Regions from separate parts of the Homo sapiens genome. Here region 2 is linked to region 1. Evidence: promoter capture Hi-C in 16 types of primary human blood cells and fetal thymus (Javierre and others, 2016). All regions are on one chromosome and are shown on one strand. Each heading gives the region's core, a stretch centred on a gene start or on the middle of the fragment in contact. The rest is flanking DNA. Distances are from core to core; before and after follow the strand shown. Region 1 holds the start of TGFB3 (transforming growth factor beta 3). Region 2 overlaps TTLL5 (tubulin tyrosine ligase like 5).

What was found. Contacts are between HindIII fragments. The CHiCAGO score rates a contact against its expected background, and 5 or more counts as called.
Region 2: a contact is called between a fragment that was not itself captured here and the fragment with the promoter of TGFB3 in region 1, in 2 of 17 cell types (naive B cells and total B cells). The highest score is 8.2, in naive B cells.

Annotation. Positions count from the first base shown.
Region 1 is chr14:75,980,745-75,983,574 of GRCh38, reverse strand. TGFB3 (transforming growth factor beta 3) reads left to right here and starts at 1,580. Exons shown (of 7, transcript NM_003239.5): 1 at 1,580-2,830. The coding sequence starts at 2,682. RefSeq lists silencers at 786-905, 1,036-1,275 and an enhancer at 946-1,005. The HindIII fragment of the contact is 14,571 bases long and covers 1-2,830 here.
Region 2 is chr14:75,909,693-75,912,522 of GRCh38, reverse strand. All of the region lies in intron 31 of TTLL5 (tubulin tyrosine ligase like 5), which reads right to left. Among named protein-coding and RNA genes, the nearest start is that of TGFB3, 71 kb to the left of the region's middle. The HindIII fragment of the contact is 1,063 bases long and covers 821-1,883 here.

The DNA.
Region 1 (2,830 bases), core at 331-2,830:
AAAATTTCCCTGAGGGCAGGAGTTTTGTTTCGTTCACTGATATTCTTCACAGAGCCTAGAATAGTGCCTGGTATATAGTAAACATTAAACTTTTTCTGAAATTTCAGAGGCAGTATAGCATAGTAATTAAGTCCAGAATCTGGCAACGTCCTGGGTCCAAATCCCAACAGCTGACACCTAATAACTATGTGACCTTGGGCAAGTTACTTTTAAAGTTTCTACCCCTAGGTTTCCCATTGGTTTTGCAAATGAAAGTAATGCCTACCCAAGCTAGATAGCCTGTGTAAAATATCGCCTCCATCACTCACAAGCAGTGTGGTCTGTAAAAAAAAAAACAAAAAACTCTATGCCTCAGTTTCCTCATCCGTAAAGTGACCCACCGCTGTGCTGGGATACAGAGAACAGCCCCTTCAGTTAGTGGCCTGGAAGCCAGACCTCTCAGAAAGGGTCCAGGAAGGCTGGAGTGAGATGGGGTGGGAGCGGCACTCACTCTCAGGAAAGTTCAGTTCAGAGGCAAGCCCTGTGTTGCGGGGTGCGGGGAGCCACGTGCCCTACCCTCCCTTGGCTGCTCGTGGGAAAAGGCCTAGAGGTTCGGGCCGAGAAGAGGAGCGAAAGCACAGAGCCGACTTCCCCTCACCCATCTGGGAAATGGGCTCGGGCCAACTGCTGACTTCGCGCTCGCTGGCGCAGCTCCCTGCGGAGACCTCGGCGGGGAGGGAGGCTGAACATCTGGATGACATTTCTGCGAGAGCGGCTCCGGAGCGGCGGTCGGGGAGGGAGAGGTGCGCTCGTGCGCACGTCGGGCCGGGAGGGAGGCGATTCCTCGGGGCCTGGGTCTTGTTTTTCTCGCTCTCTACCGCAGCCCCTTCTCCCGCCCCTCAGCCCCCACCCCGCAGCCCCCAGCCCCCGAGCCTCCCCGGCTCCCGACCAGCCGAGCTCCTTCACTGGCGGCCTCGCCTCGCCAGAGGGCACCCTCGATCTTCCGGAAAACGCCACCATTTTTCACTGCCCCTGGAGCGTCTCCAGGCTTCTGCCCGCCTCCCGACTCCGATCTTGTCAATGAAGAATCGGGCCAGGATCGCCGCGGAGCGGACGCCGACCCTCCGACCCGGCTCGCAGGCTGGGAGTCCCCTCTGCGAGGCTGGCATGGCCGCCCCTACCGGGTCCCGCGCCCTCTGCGGACCCTGCCCCGGGTTGGGCCTGGCCCGCGGGCGGCCCCGGGACCGGGGGACCAGGAGGGAGAGTAGACGCGGGCCGCGGACGGCGCGGACTGACAGCTGGCGAGAGGGCGCCGGGGCTGGGGGAAAGGGAGGGAGGGGGCTCATCGGAGTAACTTTCCAGAAAAACAGCCAACGTGTGGCAGGAGTGATTCCAAGAGGGGAAAAAAAGTTCAGCTACCACGTCGAACGAGAGGACTCGCAAAGTATTTTTCAAAAGGGCTCGGCTTTTCCTGTGCCTGTTTAAAACATTAACATCGTGCAGCAAAAGAGGCTGCGTGCGCTGGTCCCTCCCTCCCCCACCCCAGGCCAGAGACGTCATGGGAGGGAGGTATAAAATTTCAGCAGAGAGAAATAGAGAAAGCAGTGTGTGTGCATGTGTGTGTGTGTGAGAGAGAGAGGGAGAGGAGCGAGAGGGAGAGGGAGAGGGAGAGAGAGAAAGGGAGGGAAGCAGAGAGTCAAGTCCAAGGGAATGAGCGAGAGAGGCAGAGACAGGGGAAGAGGCGTGCGAGAGAAGGAATAACAGCTTTCCGGAGCAGGCGTGCCGTGAACTGGCTTCTATTTTATTTTATTTTTTTCTCCTTTTTATTTTTTAAAGAGAAGCAGGGGACAGAAGCAATGGCCGAGGCAGAAGACAAGCCGAGGTGCTGGTGACCCTGGGCGTCTGAGTGGATGATTGGGGCTGCTGCGCTCAGAGGCCTGCCTCCCTGCCTTCCAATGCATATAACCCCACACCCCAGCCAATGAAGACGAGAGGCAGCGTGAACAAAGTCATTTAGAAAGCCCCCGAGGAAGTGTAAACAAAAGAGAAAGCATGAATGGAGTGCCTGAGAGACAAGTGTGTCCTGTACTGCCCCCACCTTTAGCTGGGCCAGCAACTGCCCGGCCCTGCTTCTCCCCACCTACTCACTGGTGATCTTTTTTTTTTTACTTTTTTTTCCCTTTTCTTTTCCATTCTCTTTTCTTATTTTCTTTCAAGGCAAGGCAAGGATTTTGATTTTGGGACCCAGCCATGGTCCTTCTGCTTCTTCTTTAAAATACCCACTTTCTCCCCATCGCCAAGCGGCGTTTGGCAATATCAGATATCCACTCTATTTATTTTTACCTAAGGAAAAACTCCAGCTCCCTTCCCACTCCCAGCTGCCTTGCCACCCCTCCCAGCCCTCTGCTTGCCCTCCACCTGGCCTGCTGGGAGTCAGAGCCCAGCAAAACCTGTTTAGACACATGGACAAGAATCCCAGCGCTACAAGGCACACAGTCCGCTTCTTCGTCCTCAGGGTTGCCAGCGCTTCCTGGAAGTCCTGAAGCTCTCGCAGTGCAGTGAGTTCATGCACCTTCTTGCCAAGCCTCAGTCTTTGGGATCTGGGGAGGCCGCCTGGTTTTCCTCCCTCCTTCTGCACGTCTGCTGGGGTCTCTTCCTCTCCAGGCCTTGCCGTCCCCCTGGCCTCTCTTCCCAGCTCACACATGAAGATGCACTTGCAAAGGGCTCTGGTGGTCCTGGCCCTGCTGAACTTTGCCACGGTCAGCCTCTCTCTGTCCACTTGCACCACCTTGGACTTCGGCCACATCAAGAAGAAGAGGGTGGAAGCCATTAGGGGACAGATCTTGAGCAA
Region 2 (2,830 bases), core at 103-2,602, 71 kb after region 1:
TGTTTTTTGGCCCTGACTTTCCCTTTATACCTTGTTATTTTATTGCATGTGGTTTTATATTTTAAGACCCTATGCTGGACATGAAAAGGCTATGCTGTACCTGCCTAGCTACAATCCCATCTGAAAAAATGGTCAGACATGCATACATTGGCAGCTTTGTATCACACAATCATACTACCCTAGTACCAGGCTGGCATCTGTCTGGAAGGCAGCTGCCACCCACTTTATTTAGGCCAGTTAAGGCCTGGGAGAGAGAGCTCTGCCCACCAGGGGCACTTTGCTGGAGGAATGAATGAGAAGTATTCCATTCTGTCTTCTGAAAACTGAATGTAAAAAAAAAAAAGGAGAGAAACAATCCCATAGAGAGAGTCACGTCATGAGTAGGGCGGAGCTGTCAGCCTAGACAACAATGGAAGCTGGCTGCGGAGGAGCCAGCAAATGACCTGGCCACGGGATGGGCTAACCCGAGCTGCTGTTCAGCCAGTAAAGCTGCTGATTCTCTCAGCAACGCTGCAGGTTTTCAGGAGGTCTGGCTCTTGAGACTGATTCCTCCCTGTGCTCATGTACAACAACTTCCCTTCCAGAGGTGAACTGAGGGTCTCTCTCCTCTCGATCATCAGAAGGCTCTTGTGGTAATAATAAGAATAAATGTACACATGTACGATGATGATTAATTTTGGAGAATACTAAAAAGGAAGAATAAATATAAAACAGAAGGCCTGTGAGCGGTCATTTTTCTGAGTTGTGATTTTGAAAATTCCATATTCCAGTATCTGATTAAAAACTATCAATAATTTATTGCCTAATATAATTTGAAGCTTAGGCATAAGTTAAAAAACTCTCCTGTCAAATTCCAAAATATCTTCATTTGGGCTTGTCACAAGTCTTAATTTCCCTGGGAATCAAATTACAAATAAATAAAAAGGGAAGGAAAATACCTCACTCTCACTTTTCAGTTCATTAGATATTAAAATAAGAGTGATTCTTCTAACCAACACCAAACAACTAAATGATACATACAGCAACTTCTAAGCAGCTGCTTTTTCTTCACCTCATCATCTTAAAATCAGGTTGGTTTTCTAACTTCTTTCCCCATTTTATAATGGGGATAGAGGCTATGTTTTATTATAGCGAAGGCAAGTCCACACATTCAAGCTACTCCTCTCTGGTATCAACTAACTGCATAACCAGACTGGGCGCGGTGGCTCATGCCTGTAATCCTAGCACTTTGGGAGGCCAAGGTGGGCAAATCGCTTGAGGTCAGGAGTTCGAGGCCAGCCGGGCCAACATGGTGAAACACTGTCTCTACTAAAAATTAAAAAAAAAAATTAGCCATGCATGGTGGCGCATGCCGGTAATCCCAGCTACTCGGGAGGCGAAGGCTCGAGAGTTGTTTGGACCTGGGAGGCGGAAGTTGCAGTGAGCTGAGATCATGCCGCTGCACTCCAGTCTGGCTGGGTGACAGAGCGAGACTCTGACTCAAAAAAACAAAAACAAAAACAAAAGCAACCAACCACCCACCCCCCAACAACAAAAAAACCCTGCATTCAAGTTTTAAGAGAAGGGAGCCCCTTGACATCTATGGTGCAAACTGGAAATACCTGCATGTTCAAAAGACGAGAACAAAGAAGTATAAGAGACTACTGTTTTAGTTTTAGTAATGCTCTTCATTTTGAGGACTTAAGAGAATCTGAGTCTTTTTCTTTATAATCACAATTTGAAAGAATACAGGATAAAAATCAATACAAATCATGCCAACAGGGCAATACACTTCAAGTCATCATTCTCCAAGCCCTGCTATTATCTACCTACACTTTTTGGGACCTGGTTCAAACTCTACAGATCAGGTAAGCAGAGGTGTAAATATTTCCGTGTGGAAAGCTTGCTTTTTCCAAAGACAGGCGTGGCTTAGCATGTCATTTTCTTTCTTTAGAACTTTCAGGAGCAATTATGCCCTGAGGATATGAGGACAATAAAGCAAAGGTATGTGGCTATAAGATGTGTGGGTTCACAGGATGGATAACCACAGTGAACAGATCGATAACCTGGAGTGATATATATAAAGACAGAAAGAAGGGCAGCCTTATGCTGGTTACTTGCCCAGTTCAGGACTGCAAGAATAGACTAGATCGTCTTCTGTCCAAAGTGCATGGATATTACACAGGACCACACAACTCTGCAGCAAGATGTAGGAGTAGGCACAATTCTAACAATCCAGGCTGCCAGGCATTTTTTTCCAAGAGGTGTGTGTGCTTCTGTAATGTAAGTGTAATTTGAGAAAGGGGCCACTGTACTTCCCGTGTCTCTTTATAACAAAGTAGTAATTGTTAATAACTGAAGAATCATCACTCCTCTCTTGGGATTTTGCCAGTTCAGCAAGAAAAAAATATCAATTTTCAGATGTTATCTTCCTCCATAGCCTATCTCTTAATCCATTTTAGAAATGGAGTTCTCTGGTTTTCTTCAAGGCCAATGAACCCCTTTTGGATAGATTCTTAGAAGTACCCCTATTCTCTCCCCCAAACTAAAAGCCAGGCTGTCTTCTTCCTCACTTCCAACCAGGTTGTTCAGCTATACTTGGGTTTTGTTTCTGAATGTAGAAACAGTTACTAAATGAAATGCAAGAGGCCTCAGGACAGGAACGCATGCACTTCAATGGCTGACAGCCAGGTGATTCTGCCATGTAGAGGGATCCACATCCTTCTTGTGTGGCTACAGCCAGGTCAATGCCAGCAAAACACATACTGTTAAAACATCACTTGTGTAACACAGGCTACGGATGAAGTGCTATGCCCAGTTGCTTAGAACTGGGTGATGTAAACCTAATTCA